Linked DNA regions of Homo sapiens: all the other regions are linked to region 1. Evidence: promoter capture Hi-C in 16 types of primary human blood cells and fetal thymus (Javierre and others, 2016). All regions are on one chromosome and are shown on one strand. Each heading gives the region's core, a stretch centred on a gene start or on the middle of the fragment in contact. The rest is flanking DNA. Distances are from core to core; before and after follow the strand shown. Region 1 holds the start of DDX60 (DExD/H-box helicase 60). Region 2 holds the start of SPATA4 (spermatogenesis associated 4). Region 3 holds the start of NAF1 (nuclear assembly factor 1 ribonucleoprotein). Region 4 holds the start of SAP30 (Sin3A associated protein 30).

Region 1 (3,749 bases), core at 568-3,067:
AGTTTGTTCTCTTACAGTTCTGAGCTCAGAGGTTCAAAATCAGTCTCTCTGGGCTGAAGTCAAGGTGTTATCAGGGCTGATTTCTGGAGGCTCTAGAAAAAAAAAATGTTTCCTTGCCTTTGGTAGTTTCTAGAGACCACCAGACTCCTTGGCCCGTGGTCCCTTCCACTGTCTTCAACGCCATCTGTGTAGTGTCCCCACATTCTGTCACTGACTGTTTCTATCATCACATTGCCCCTCGAACTCCTGTCTCCCTCTTATAAAGGCCCTTCTGATGACCTTGGGCCCACCTGGATAATCCCGGGTAAGGGGTAATCTCCTCTTCTAAAGATTCTTATTTAATCTATTTTGCAAAGTTACTTTTGCTATGAAAGTTACTGTATTCATAGGTTCCAGGAATTAGGATTTTGGCCTCTTTTGGAGGGAGGAGTGCAGGGTATTATTCAGCCTACCCCAGGCAGGTACATCAGAGATCACAGTGAAGGAGACAGGAATATTGGCTGATTTAAGACCAATCATGTGTTAAATTCTAGAGTCTTTTATTTTCTTTCTTAATCTCATCACTAACAAACACGTGAATTTCTAAACAAATGAATAAACAAGTAATTGTCTGATGGATGTGAGAAATGTCCTCCTTCCCCATATCCCCCTCTTTTAACAACTTGACTCTCTAATTTTTCACAAGACAAAGTATCATTCACTACTCTCTCTGTTCTGTGTTCCCTGTGGAGCAGTGCCTGGACCTTGGCTCTTTCCTTTCCTTGTAGACAAAGCAGCCTGTGGCTTCTTATCATGCTGATTACCCAAATTCACTGCTGTCTTTCCTCCACACCCTCTTCTATTTCCAATATATGAATGCATATTTATAGCATTAATGAAATCAAGCATACGAGGGCACTGAAAGGAAAGGAGATGAGTATCGAAACCCACACTGCAAGTATCAACAGGCAAAAATTAAGAGAACATTTCATCAATTTGAGGCACAAATAAATGTGACCATTCTGCATTTTCAATTTATTTTTTAATGTTGATTCTTGGCCCATGAAAGTACCAATTACAGTTTATACAGAACAGTAATCATCAGCTTCTCATAACAGAAACTCAAAGTTCATGTATTGTTACATACTTTCTTTTTTCTTTTTGCATACAAGTAGAAGCAGCAAGATCTCCAATTTCATTGTGGGGTTTCAGATTCCACAGTGTCTTTTACATTTTATCAATTTCTAAATTCTAACTCTTCTTGATTTTATCTTGTTTAGATGTTACAAATTTTTCTGCCTCAATTTACTCTATATTTATGCCCAAATTCCAAAGCCCATTTTTATTGCCTTTGTCTCTCTCTTTTAAGGTTTTTTTTAGTTTCATTTTATTTTTAATTGACGCATAATAATTGTATATATTTTTGGGGTACAATGTGACGTTTCAATACATGTATACATTGTGTGATGATCAAATCAGGATAATTAGCCCATCTATTACCTCAAAACTTTACTATTTCTTTGTGATGAGAATATTCAAAATTCTCTCTTCTAGCTATTTTGAAATATGCATTATTGTTAACTATACACACCCTACTGCAGAATAGAATACCAGAACTGGTTCTTCCTAGCTATTGTAACTTCATACCTTTTAACTAACGTCTCGCCATGCTCCCCTTCTTAAGATTCTGATTGAAGGGAAGGATGCTAAACTTTCCACGAAAGTGCCTCGCCTAATTCGTGCTGAAGGGAAACTGAAACCTAAGTGCTTCTGAGAGGAGAAAGGAAACCGAAACTCCCGCCGGATGCATAAAAGACTGGCTGCGGTGGCTCAGAGCGCCGAGTCCTAGGCCAGGTCTGGGGTAACCTGGAACTTCCACCTGGGCTCTGCGCTAGGTCTCTGTTTCACTCCCTCCCCGCGGGGCGCGCAGCTCGCGGGTCTTTGGACACCACCGGTCCTGAGTCCGCGGTGAGGAGCCGGGGATGTCCCTTGGGAAGAGCCTGGGGCGGAGCTGTCTAGCGGGAGTTCTAGGTCTTCTTCAACGGACCGGACAGGGAGGTGGCCCAGGAGTGCTGGGCTCGGGGCGCGGGAATCTGGGGAACCTCCTGGGATCGCAAGGCCGTGGCGCACGGGCCCCCTGCTGGCCCGGAAGGCCGGGCGTGGGGAGGGGCGGAGGAAAGGGACAACCGCGAAAGGCCTGAAGTCTGAGACAGAGAGGAGTGCTTAGTTAGGCATTTAAGGAGTCCCCGTCAAAGGTGGGAGCTGGGTAATGGAGGTTGAGGAGAAATTAAGGGACATCATATCTAAGCACAGCCAGTAAAACCTGTACATTGACAGCAGCAAGAAGCTTCCACCTTCAATCCCTGCTCCAGACTTGTAGAATCAGAATCTGCGTTTATTAATAAGATTCCCCCAGGTAATTTCTGTGCACCCTTAAATTTCAGTGGCTTAAGACAATAGAAATTTATTTCCTACTCCAGTAACTTAATTTATTCCTGGTCAAGGGGCAGGTATAGTGGCTTAAAACATTACAAGTTTATTATTTTACAATTGCTGTGGATCAGAAGCCCAGGCATGGGTAAAGTGAGTTCTCTGTTCAGCATCTCATCGAGCTGAAATCAAGGTGTCAGAGCTGTGGCCTCATGGGACACCATGGATGCTCATTCAGGTTGTTGGAAGAATTCAGTTTCTTGCAGCTAAAGGACTGAGGTTACCTGCTTTCTTGCTGGCTGTTGGCTGGGGGTTCCCATGTCTTTAGATTTCACCCTGAGATCTTAGCTACAGTGGCCTTCTCACAACAAGGTGGCTTATACCGTTAAAGAAGGTATAGGGTACCTTTAAAGAAGGTATAAGCCTCTTTGGGGGAATCTCCCGAGTCTACTATGATGAAGTCTTACATAATATAACCGAATCATTAAAGAGACTATGCCATTAAATTCACAGGTCCTGTCCACACTCAAGGGGAGAGGGTTATACCGGGTACTGGAAGCCATTTTAACCCACCAGCTCTTCTCCAGGCAGGGTTTCAGGAGCTTGATGCCTTTCATCAAGTAGCTCCACCATTCTGTTCCAATACAGAATCCATGATTTCCTTTCCCTTCCCTTGCCCCCATTTTTTTCCTCTTTACCTCCCCTTTGCGCCTTTCCTCTTCCCTCCTTTTTTCTCTTTTCCATTTCTCTTCCTCCCTTCTTCTTTTCTTCTTCCTTTTTAAGATTGTTTGAATCAGAATATGGTTCTGACACTACTGTGATTGGAGGATAAGCCTTATAAGGTTCTTGCAATTTCTTTCATCCCCTTTTAATTTATTCGTTTGTAAGATTTGTGGTCTTATGATTGTTTGTTTTTGTATGTGTGTGTCCTGTTGGGTGTGTGTTTATGTGTGTGTGTGTGTATGTGTCCTAATCCCTGTGGTGTCATTTAACATATTTTGCTGGCCTCTAAATTTCTTGTAAATTAATCATTACTACTAGCGTTTTGATCAGATTCAGGTTTTCTTTTTTTTCTTCTTCTTCTTTTTTTTTTTTTTTTTTTGAGACGGAGTCTTGCTCTTTTGCCCAGGCTGGAATGCAGTGGCTTGATCTCAGTTCACTGCAACCTCTGCCTCCCAGGTTCAAGCGATTCTTCTACCTCAGCCTCCCAAGTAGCTGGGATTACAGGTGACTGTCACCATGCCCAGCTAATGTTTGCATTTTTAGTAGAGATGGGGTTTCACCATGTTGGCCAGTCTGGTCTCGAACTCCCGACCTCAGGTGATCTGCCCGCCTTGGCC
Region 2 (3,749 bases), core at 779-3,278, 7.9 Mb before region 1:
ATTTTAGGGAGACATGAGACTTCAGTCGACATGTGGAAGATGAACATTGATTTGGTCTGGAAAAGGTGGGACAACTAGAAGCAAAGGCAGGACAACTCAAGCAGGGAGGGGGCTTCCAGGTCATAGGTAGATGGGAGACAAATGGTTGCATTCTGTTGAGTTTCTGATGAGCCTTTCCAGAGTAGGCAATCAGGTATGCATTTAGCTCAGTGAGCTAAGCGGTGACTTTGAATAGAATAGGAGGCAGGTTTGCCCTAAGCAGTTCCCACTTTGACTTTTCCCTTTAGCTTAGTGATTTGGGGGAGGTGGGGGGGGTCCCAAGATTTAATTTCCTTTCACAGTAGAAATGGCTATTCAAAGCTTTCATCTTAAAAATCAGCTTAAAATACCACCTTCTAAGATCCAAATTAATGGTCATCTCTTTTGAGAGGACTTCTTACACTCTCCCAGGCCAAAGTATTTGCTTCCTTTCTGGTGCTAACATATTTTTACCATGGCAGAGCTTTTCAGTGTATGTAATCTTTTCACTGATATTTCTATCTCTGAATCTCTTATAAATGATCTGCCGCACAGAGCTGTCCAATCGAAATTCCTGTAGTGATGGAACAGTGCTGTGTCTGTCCTACCCAACATGGCAGCCACTAGCTACATATGGCTATTGAGCAGGTAAAATGTAGCCAGTGGAACTGAGTTTATTTAAATTTAAGTTTAAATAGCCACATGTGGCTAGTGGCTACCATATTGGATGGTAAAGATCTAGCACATACTCCAGGATAGTTCCTCAGAAAAGGTTTACAGAATGAATGAATCATTCATTAAAACTTTTTTAGCCTAACAGAAAACACTTACATAGCTTCAGTTTTGGTTTTCTTTTTTAACCACATACAGAATACACTGGTTTACTTTATTAATAAGCATGTATATGAATAAACATTAAAAATATTACATAGTATCATTATCAAGATCTATCCCATATTTTACCATGTGTATGTATCCACAGGGCCTGTCACCTGGCTCTCTGCAGCCTCAAGTTCCTGAGCTCAAGCAATCCTCCCACCTCAGCATCTGGAGTACTTGAGAGTACAGGTGTGCACCACCACACCCAGCTATTTTGTTTGTTTGTTTGTTTTGTAGCGAAAGTCTCTCCACCTTGTGTTGCCCAGGCTGGTCTTGAACTCCTGAGCTCAAACGATCCTCCCGCCTCCACCACCCAAAGTGCTGGGATTACAGGCATGACCCACTGTGCCCTGCCAAGCAAAAAAAAACAAAAAACAAAAAACAAAAAACAAAAAACTGTGGCTGTAAAAATTTTTAATGGATTTTAATAATTAAGCTTACATATTTATAATTGCCTATGCCAACTTTGCAGTTGTTTTCATTGTGTTCAGATAGATCCCAAGTGACTAGATGAATGCGTGGCACATAATATGGACTCAATACATATTTGTTGAATTAATGAAGGAATTATGCCTACTAGGAGATTTTAATTAAGTGTGAAAATCTAACCTACACATCGTTTTCAAATATTAATGTTTACAAATACTTAATGCAATAATTAAGGAAATAGTTATGTTAAATTTTGTGGACATTCATTTCCATTTCAAAGATTTTTTTCCCCCATCTCTTCCAATTCCCAAACAAAAACTGTCCTTGGCCTCTGGAGTCTTCTCACACCACTCCTCAAACTAGACGACTGAAAATAGGCCTTTGGCTGGGCAGAAACCAACAATATTTAAAATACAAAACTTATGAACGATGACATAAGAAAAAAAAAGCTCTAAATAGGTTAACAGTGAGGCCAACTAAATCTGAGACTGAAAGCGCTCCCCAGACCGCAGCCACACCACTGGGACCCCAGCTTTGCCTCCCTCGATACCCGGCCCCGCGGTCCAAAATCTGAGTAAAGCGGAAGTACGGGCGGCTGCTGCGGCGCTTGCGCAGGCGCTGAGGTCTCGCCCCATAAGACTCCGCCCCGCCCCACGAGACCGCGCCGCCAGCAATAAGGCCCAGCCCCGCCTTCTGCTGTTGCCGCAGCAACCCAGAAAGCGTCATGGCTGCCGCCGGCCAGGAAAAAGGGTATTTGACACAGACTGCGGCAGCCCTAGACAAGTCACCGTCACTTTCGCCACAGCTAGCAGCTCCCATCCGAGGGAGGCCTAAGAAGTGTCTGGTCTATCCGCATGCGCCGAAGAGCTCCCGCTTGTCTCGTTCCGTTCTGCGTTGGCTTCAGGGTCTGGATCTCAGCTTCTTCCCCAGGAACATCAACAGGTGCTTGAGTAAGCCAGTCCTAGGCCCCCCCGGTGGGCGCCCCGCCTGCTTTCCGCCGCCTGCCAGGCCTCAGATTGCCTACCCTGGCCTGGCTTATGTTTCAAATCAAGACCCCCCCACCCACGTACACACACGAAAACACTATTAGGGAACAAGGCTTTAACAAAATACCACGATACATCTTGTTTATTCAATTAATCAACCAATCATTAAATTGTGGACAATATAGAATGCTTTGGTGACTACAAAAATATTAAAATAGTCAAAGCTTTTTCTTTAGTGATATTGGGCATTAATACTGGTAAGGACGGCCGGGCACAGTTGCTCATGCCTGTAATCCCAGCATTTTGGGAGCCGAGGCAGGCGGATCACCTGAGGTCAGGAGTTGAGTAACAGCCTGACCAACACGGTGAAACCCCGTCTCTACTAAAAAATACAAAAAATTAGCCCAGTGTGGTGGCGGGTGCCTGTAATCCCAGCTACTGGGGAGGCTGCAGGCAGGAGAATGCTTGAACCCGGGAGGCGGAGGTTGCTGTGAGTCGAGATTATGCCGCTGCACTCCAGCCTAGGTGGCAGGGTAAGACTCTGTCTCAAAAAAAAAAAAAAAAAAAAAAAAAAAAAATACTGGTAAGGATCAGTTTACCCTTTGTCGGAGATGGCATCTAGTTTGAGAGTTACCAACAAGTTTTTAAAGTTGCTGCTTAATTGTAGGCACTTTGTATGTAACTGGCAGCTAATATTTGCTCTGGGAATGCAAACTAAATTCTATAAAAAGGCAATGAATCTTTTGCAGAACTCTGGTTTAAAGTAGTCTCTCCTTATCAGAGAGGCATAGGTTCCAAGATCCCCAGTGGATGGCAACTGTGGATACTACAGAACCCTCTGTCAGAACACATTTCTGTTTATGTCTTCCATCCACAAATTTAATGCCTTTTTAAAAATCTTAACTAAGCACTTATCACACACTGTGGCTGAAAGTTTTTCAGTTTGAGGTGTGATGCCGAAACTATCAAGAATTTCTTTTTCTTCATATTTCAGGAATATGATTCATTCCTACCATTGTAACCATTCTTACAACTTTCTATTAAGTCAAGAACTTTCATCTTTTCACCTAAAGGAATAATTTTATGGTTTCTCTCTGGCATATCTGAATCACCAGCATCACTGCTCTTGCACTTTGCACACAAGCGCACCACACTGTACAGTTGATCTGATGACTAAAAGGTGACTGATGTCTACAACGTGGAGACTCTGGACAAAGGGAGGACTCACATCCTAGGCAACACAGAGCAGGCAGGGAGGTTTCATCAGACTGCCCAGAACAGAGTACAATTTAAAAGTTACAAATTATTTCTTGAATTTTCCATTTAATATTTTCCGACTGTGATTGACCCAAGGTAACTGAAACTGCAGAAAGCAAAACTGCAGATAAGCGGGGGACTAGTTTACTAATTTGTCTTCAGTATTACTTACAACCATGC
Region 3 (3,749 bases), core at 455-2,954, 5.2 Mb after region 1:
CTAATTCCTGGAAAAATGCAACAAAGTGGCTGGCTGGGGAATAATTCTGGCTCAAACGTCTTCCCTTCTCAAATCTGTACTGCATGTCTTTGCAAGATCATTGTTAATTAAATATTTTATTCGTGAGTTCATGCATTGTTCCATTTTCCAAGTATTTTTGCACACTGAATGTATGACATGCCACTCCCTTATATAAAGCCTTACTTAGTGCTCACATGAACTAAATGAGATAGTATTTTTATCTCCATTTTACAGATAAGGAAATTAGGATTTAGATTAACTGCCCAAAGTCAGTAACACCAAACACAAAATGGTAGAGCTGAGGCCTGAACACAGGTCTTTTTAGTTGAAAACTCTGAGCTCTGCTTAATCATTGTGCTAGTAAGTTCGTATCCCAAGTTTAAAGTCCTTCTTCACTTTGGAGGATTTCCATGAAATAGCCTACCAATCCTACTTCCCATTTCTGCTGCACTTGGATTTTCTATTTCATATTTCAAATATTTTTCTAGTTATCTCCTGTGCATTGCCCTTCTCTACTTCAAGTAGATTGTAAGCTTCTTAAAACCTTACTCTTATTACACTTGCCTTGCATTTCTATGAAGATCTACTGTTGTAGATGACACACTAAATTCTCAGTGAATAATTTATAAAATCTTTAGCACAGTCCTTGGCACATATGCATGTTTAACAAATGGTATCAATGATTATTATTACTACACAGGGACTGATGCCTCAAACTGAAGACCTAATAGGAAACCAGAAAATTCTGATCTCTTCCTCAGTCCTAAGAACTCTGCTTGCTTTCTCCACAATTTAGACTAGTGGTTTCCAACAATAAGTGAGTACATTTCAGTCTCATAGTCTCATCTCTCTACTACGAAACAGTGCTAAGTATGATATAGACATCACCATAACATGAACAACACAGCAAAATTTTGTCCATTACTGCTCTCTTTGAGGGTACTTTGGAGAAAGGAAAATGGAATAGTTGTAGTTACATTTTTGAAAAAATGGTTAATACCCTATCTATCGACAGATGGATCTATTGATGGATAAACTTCATTTAACTTTCATGAAGTTACTAGCGTCTTGTCAAGACTTCCTGGCTCAAGTTTCTGATGTACAGAACTTAGCATTCTTCAGGCACCCCCCTGTTGTATAATCCCTGCTTCATTTTGGCGCTTCAAGCAGAATTGGTTCACATGCAGCAATAGGAAAATCCGACATTCAGGCCTTGAATGGTTCACATGACGCAGTGAAAACGGTCGATTTAGGGCCTCCCTAGTCCTGATTATTTTTTTTTGAGACGGAGTCTCGCTTTCTCGCCAGGCTGGAGTGCAGTGGCGCGGTCTCGGCTCACTCCAACTTCCGCCTGCTGGGTTCAAGCGATTCTCCTGCCTCAGCCTCCCAAGTAGTGGGAATTACAGGCACGCGCCACCATGCCCAGCTAATTTTTGTATTTTTAGTAGAGATGGGGTTTCACCATGTTGGGCAGGCTGGTCTGTGAACTCCTGACCTTGTGATCCGCCCACCTCGGTCTCCCAAAGTGCTGGGATTACGAGCGTGAGCCACGGCGCCCGACCCCCTAATCCTGATTTTCGAAGATATGACGCATGTATCCTGCCCCCGCGAGCGCCGTCGCGCCGTCGCGCCACATACGTCACACGCTCTTCGGAAAGCGTTGCTGCGTAAATGGCGGGGGCGTGTCTTTTGGCTCCTCCGCGTGTAGTTACCTGAGAAACGCGGGAAGTTGGGCCCAGGCAGTGTTGCTGCGGTTGCCTAAGTTGTTTTTCTATTTCTGGAGAGAGCCGTGAGCTTGTCCAGGGGCCCCAATCCTGAGGCCGACCCGGTTTCTGGCGCGGTGCGATGGAGGTAGTGGAGGCCGCCGCCGCTCAGCTGGAAACTCTGAAATTCAATGGCACCGACTTTGGAGTTGGGGAAGGTCCGGCGGCTCCGTCTCCGGGCTCTGCCCCTGTGCCAGGGACACAGCCGCCGCTACAGTCGTTTGAGGGGTCCCCGGACGCTGGGCAGACCGTGGAGGTTAAGCCTGCCGGGGAGCAGCCTCTGCAGCCCGTTCTGAACGCCGTCGCGGCCGGGACCCCGGCGCCGCAGCCACAGCCACCGGCTGAATCGCCGGCCTGCGGAGACTGCGTCACCTCCCCAGGAGCCGCAGAGCCTGCGCGGGCGCCGGACTCCTTGGAGACCTCGGACTCGGATTCGGACTCGGACAGGTCGGGTGCCTAAGGGACCCGGAGCTGTGGGGAGAGGTCTTGTATGACGGGCGGGGGTGGCTGGGGCCTAGGAGCCTAGAGGTTGCTTGTGTGGGCCCTGGAGGGTGGGCAGGTCGTTGGTGCTCCGGGCTCACGTGTTGAAGTATTGGCTCCGACTGCCCCTTATTCGCTGCCTCTCAAAGCAGGTCGCGTTGTGAATCTGAGCTTAGTACTGACTTATTTCCTAAATTTGGTGGCCTGAAGGGTTCTATGTATAGATCGTATCATTTTTTGTTAGACTTTAGAAAACCCGAGGATCTTAGGTTATTTCCGTAACTACTCAGTTTAGGCTGTACTTTTGTGGTTATAGTTGAGTTTTGTGTCAGATCTGATTTTTTTTTATCATCACATCTAGGCTTTGTTTTTTGAACCACATACATTGGGGATCAGGAAAAGTATTATTTTTTGTGTTTCAAAGCTGGCTCTTGATGATTACGTTAATTTATAGAATCCTTGCAGGGAACACGTGTTTATGAAAGTAGCCAAACAGTGTTATTTAGTAGTATCTTATGCTTCTTACGTTTTGTGAGAGCCTTTCCCCCTTGCCCCCACACCTGTCTTTTAAATATGAAATCTCTGGGCTGGAGAGGACTCCAGCATGTGGGATGTTACTAAACCACACTGAACATTGTCTACAAATAGTTGAGTGTGTTGAGTGGGGTACTGAACAGGTTAACAAGATAGACACGTGTTGAGGAGGTGAGAAGTTTAGTTTTCAGGGAAGTCATCAGCGGAGAGTGGAAGTGAAGAAGGCTGAAGGATTTGAGTAGAAGGAGAGGGTATGAAATGTACTGGGAGGGGGAAGTAACAACTGTAAACAAGGTTGGATTTCTTGGCAGTACTAAGATTGCAGTATAATCATCTTGTGGGATTTCAGAGCTCATTTTACTAGCAAAGAAAAGTAAATGGTAGATGATTTGGGGATACGTTTTGAAAGCAGAAGGGATATGGCGTCATAATAGGCCAACTTAGTGTCAGGATACTACTTCTGACTCTGTGGGTGATGGCAGAGGATACCAAATATTTGAAGAAGTCAAAAGGGGTACAACTTTTTGCCAGTTAACAGCAGTGAAATCAAATGGAAACTGAAGAAGCAGGTTTAGTTAGTATAATGCACTTTTTCTTGTTTTAACTTGCTATGAGTGTGGGTGTATAGGCCATTCGTACAAAGGTGGCCAGTATGCCGTCAGAGATTGGACATGGAGTTTAGAGATGTCATAGCTGAAGATTTAGGCGTTAATTCACATGGATGATGACTGAAATCATTAATGTGTATGGGATTATCCATGAAAGTAGTAGCGAAAGAAGAGAAAGTGAGGATGGAACCCTTAAAAATAGTATATAAAAGGGCTTCAAGTGGGGAGCCAACAAACAAAATTTAAACTGAGACAGTGGTTGCTGTTAACGATAATTTCTGTGGAAGATAAGGACCAAGTGAGTTTTCAGAAAGTAGAATGGTCTACATACTTTCGTAACTGA
Region 4 (3,749 bases), core at 1,250-3,749, 5.1 Mb before region 1:
GAGGTCAAAAAAAGAGTAAGTTATGTGACAACAGAGCTGCAAAAATTGTCAATCTAAAATGTAACAATTCAAACTGTGTAAATGCATGTCAACTGGCTATATTTAATTTTGCTTTCATTTTCAGATTTCTCAAATGTTTTAAACACTTAAAAGATTGTTCATATCTTTTTATAAAGGCTTCAGAATGCACTACTTAGGATTTACATTAAGCATAAAAAACTTCCATCTACCTCTGGGGTATCAATATCTTGAACAGGTGAATCACCTCCATCATCATCACTCCCTTTTCTCTTTCTTCTGTTTCGAACACTCTGAATTAAGTTTTTATGATAATCACATATGTAAAGATGCCTTGCCTGAAACAGAAAAGTTTTACACACTGCTTATGATTACAGTAAAATGTGTCTATGTATTAGTAAAACACATATGCCACAGTGAGTTCTTAAAAATAAAGACAGCCAAGATGGGCCATTGTTAAGATAATGGAATATTTATACGTTTAAATCCTATACGCTAAAACATAAGATGTCTGGAATACTGTTAAAAGGATGGTGGATGGGGAAGGAGGGGTTGGTTCCATCTGGGGAAGGGGGTAAGGGAGGGAGGGAGAGGAGAATGAGAAATTCCAACCCTCTGGGTTTTGTCATCAAATTGCAGTGAGGGGCTGGGCGCGGTGGTTCACGCCTGTAATCCCAGCACTTTGGGAGGCCAAGGCGGGTGGATCACTTGAGCTCAGGAGTTCCACACAAGCCTGGCCAACATAGTGAAATCCCGTCTCTACTAAAAATACAAAAAATTAGGCGGGCATGGTGGCAGTAGCCTGTAATCCCAGCTACTCAGGAGGCTATGGCAGGAGAATCACTTGAACCTGGTGGTTGGAGGTTGCAGTGAGCCGAGATCGCGCCACTGCACTCCAGCCTGGGCAACAGAGTGAGACTTTGTCTTAAATAAATAAACAAACAGATAGCAGTAAGGATGACCTGAATTAGTTCATGTTGAATTTTTAACTGATGAGGGGAAAGATGATGTTGCTCACAGTTTTGCTACTTGACAGTACTTTCTCTACTTAAAAGAACAGCATATTTTAGTAATATAATGTATGCTTTCCAGTCTTTCTAACTGAATACCCAAATTATAGTCCAGATACAAAACCATTCGTTTTCACAAATGAGCCATCGACTTCAAAACTATATTTAAATTTCAGTTATACATTTTTCTGAATATTAAATCAATGTATTTATCTATAACACATTTTTCCAAAACAATCTGAAATTATGCAAGTTCACCTGAAGAGTTTCTCATGGATAACACTGAAAACTGTTTAAACGGGCAAAAAGTGTCACAAATAAACTTTTCAAAAACTTTAATTACATATACTCCTGCGAGCTGTAGACTAGCATTTGAAACAAACACGGACTGAGCTAACAGGCTTTTACATTTACTTCTAAGCCAAGCGCAAGATAAAAATATGCAGGACTTGTGGTAGGTTCTCGATACCATGTTATTCATTTACCGCTAGCCAGATCTCCCAAAAGTAGCAACGGCTGTTTCTAAAAACCTCATAGATGGTCAAACGAAAAGACGTGCAAAAAATCCTGATGGCTGCCAAGGGGATGGCAAAACCGCAGAGGCTACGTGCTCCCCACCATCGGAGTAGCTGCCCTCGGAGCTGACAGCGCAAACGCCGTTTACAACCCCGGCTCACTGCCAGGCGGCGGGTGAGCTCGGCTTCCCTCTCACTCCGCTCCGGAGGAGACGGAACACAGAAAAGAACAGGATCTTCCTTGTTCGTGAAGGTCCTCCGCTTTCTCCTAGACGACGGGATTTAGTACCGCCTGGGGCCAAACACCAGCTTGGGCAGCAAAACAAAGGCGCCTCCATTCCAGAAGAGCTGCCGGGCTGCAAGAAAACTACTCTGGGCCCTCAGTGCGCCGGTCCCCTTTGTTTCGTGTCCCGGTCGCAGAGGAGAAGGAAGAGGGAAGACTGCGCGGGAGAGACGCAGGCAGCGGGAGGTTGGGGGCCAGGGTGGGAAAGAAGAGGGGAACGACAGCCTGTGTGTGGTGTGTGTGTTGGGGTGGCGGTAGGAGTTGCAGCGACTTTGTTATTTGCTTCCAAACACAGACTCCACGAGACCGCACTGCAGCCAGTGCGGTTGTCTGGGGGACCCCGCCGACAACCCGTGCCTTTGCCCGGCTCCTGGGGCCCCACCGAGGGGCGGGAGGGCAGGGCGGTCCCGCGGTTTACTTACGCTCTTATCCAGCTCGATCTTCACCTTCTTCTGGGAGATGCTCTTCTGGATCCTCTTGCTGAAGCTGGCGTTGCCTGCCGCCCGGCCGCACCGCTCACCATCCTCCCGCAGGCAGCACAGTTGCCCGGGGCCCGGCCCGGCCGCCCCCGGGGGCCCAGCCGCTGAGACCGCCCCCGCGCCCGGCACCTCAGCCCCGGTGCCCGCGCCGGTCCCGTTCCCCGCCGAGGCGGCGGCGGCCGCGGCAGCGACCACTGCGGCCACTGCGGCGGCCGCATCCCCGCCGCGGCTCATCTCGTCAGGCGTGAAGCCGTTCATGTCTCCGAGCTCCCGAGGCCGGCGCTGACAGAAATCCCCTCTCTCCTGGCCGCTCCGCCTCTCTCCGCTCCGGCAGCGGCAATTCACTCTGCACACCAAGTTAGACAGCGGCACGGCCAAACACCAACTGTCCCGGGCCTGCTGGTCTCTGCTGGCACCGAAACAGTGGACAGTGCTGAGGGCCGGGACGCAGACTCGAGCGTCTCCTGGAGCGGGGACCCCGCTCACTGTCACATGGGGACTTCAGCAGTTGGACCGCTACGCCTCCGCCTCCCTCCGGCCCCGGGACCTGCGCAAGCGCGACGCGCCCCCTCCCGTCCCGCCCCTTTCTTTCTGCCGCGCGGCCCCATGGGAATTGTAGTTCTCTGCTGCAGAGTCAACCTGAGCTCCGCCCTGACCCCGCGCCATGAGGGACGGAGGAACTACTAATCCTAGCATGCATAGCGCGGCCACGGACCCACTTTTTTTTTTTTTTTTTTTTTTCAGTACCGGGAAAACAGGAGCGTGTGATTGGGGTTTACAGTGTTTTCTCTCGCTCTCTCTGTTTCTAGGGAATTCGGGCTGTGTTTAGCTGCTGGAATATCGTAGAATTGGTTTTCAGAGAAGTTCCTCGACTCCTGAGGCGAAACATAAAGGGATGGGAGTGGTGTGGGAAGTGATCGTGTGGGGAAAAAAAAGTTTCGAGCCCGTTTCGCATTTGTGGAGACAGAGTTTTTGGTGTGACCACTCTTTTGTGGGAAACCCAAACCAAGGAGAACTCAGGAGAATTGGCGCTCTTCGGTCCTGGAGGTTCCGCAGCTAACATCCCGGCTTGACCAACTATCGAGGCCGCAAATTAATAGGGCACCTCCTGGGAGGAAAACGCCCATCCTGACTTCTCAACTGTGACAGGTCCCCCTCACAAACGCCTTGCGGGGGGGTGGGGGGGCGTTTCTAAACACTTGCATGTTCTTACAAGGGAAATGTTTTTATTCTTGGGCGCACCAAGTTGGCCGCCTCCTGAGGTGGAGTACGGACCAGTTGACAACAGGGCTCCTTTTCACCTCCACGCCCAACCTTTTCCATTTCTCCTCAAACGGTTTTGGAGAAGGGCGGAGTCATATCATTTTAAAGGAAACTTGGAACCTCACCAATACAAACGCTGGTCGAATGTTCCCAGAAACTTCCCTGCATTAGCTCTACCGGG

The links. Contacts are between HindIII fragments. The CHiCAGO score rates a contact against its expected background, and 5 or more counts as called.
Region 2: a contact is called between the fragment with the promoter of SPATA4 here and the fragment with the promoter of DDX60 in region 1, in 2 of 17 cell types (total CD4 T cells and M1 macrophages). The highest score is 6.9, in total CD4 T cells.
Region 3: the fragment with the promoter of NAF1 here is called in contact with the fragment with the promoter of DDX60 in region 1 in 7 of 17 cell types (activated CD4 T cells, naive CD8 T cells, total CD4 T cells and 4 more); the score reaches 16.3 in activated CD4 T cells.
Region 4: a contact is called between a fragment that was not itself captured here and the fragment with the promoter of DDX60 in region 1, in 1 of 17 cell types (activated CD4 T cells). The highest score is 5.6, in activated CD4 T cells.

The regions. Positions count from the first base shown.
Region 1 is chr4:168,316,820-168,320,568 of GRCh38, reverse strand. DDX60 (DExD/H-box helicase 60) reads left to right here and starts at 1,817. Exons shown (of 38, transcript NM_017631.6): 1 at 1,817-1,947. RefSeq lists an enhancer at 1,554-1,883. The HindIII fragment of the contact is 2,588 bases long and covers 1-2,328 here.
Region 2 is chr4:176,193,864-176,197,612 of GRCh38, reverse strand. It overlaps SPATA4 (spermatogenesis associated 4), which reads left to right and starts at 2,028. Exons shown (of 6, transcript NM_144644.4): 1 at 2,028-2,268. The coding sequence starts at 2,051. The HindIII fragment of the contact is 1,203 bases long and covers 1,336-2,538 here.
Region 3 is chr4:163,164,845-163,168,593 of GRCh38, reverse strand. NAF1 (nuclear assembly factor 1 ribonucleoprotein) reads left to right here and starts at 1,704. Exons shown (of 8, transcript NM_138386.3): 1 at 1,704-2,231. The coding sequence starts at 1,867. RefSeq lists enhancers at 1,751-1,950, 1,971-2,090, 2,121-2,200, 1,692-2,559. The HindIII fragment of the contact is 3,845 bases long and covers 557-3,749 here.
Region 4 is chr4:173,369,997-173,373,745 of GRCh38, reverse strand. SAP30 (Sin3A associated protein 30) reads right to left here and starts at 2,792. Exons shown (of 4, transcript NM_003864.4): 1 at 2,249-2,792; 2 at 231-356. The coding sequence starts at 2,563. It overlaps SAP30-DT (SAP30 divergent transcript), which reads left to right and starts at 3,048. Exons shown (of 4, transcript NR_183973.1): 1 at 3,048-3,454. RefSeq lists enhancers at 1,682-1,981, 1,685-2,248, 3,332-3,571 and silencers at 2,102-2,481, 2,762-2,931. The HindIII fragment of the contact is 6,906 bases long and covers 1-3,749 here.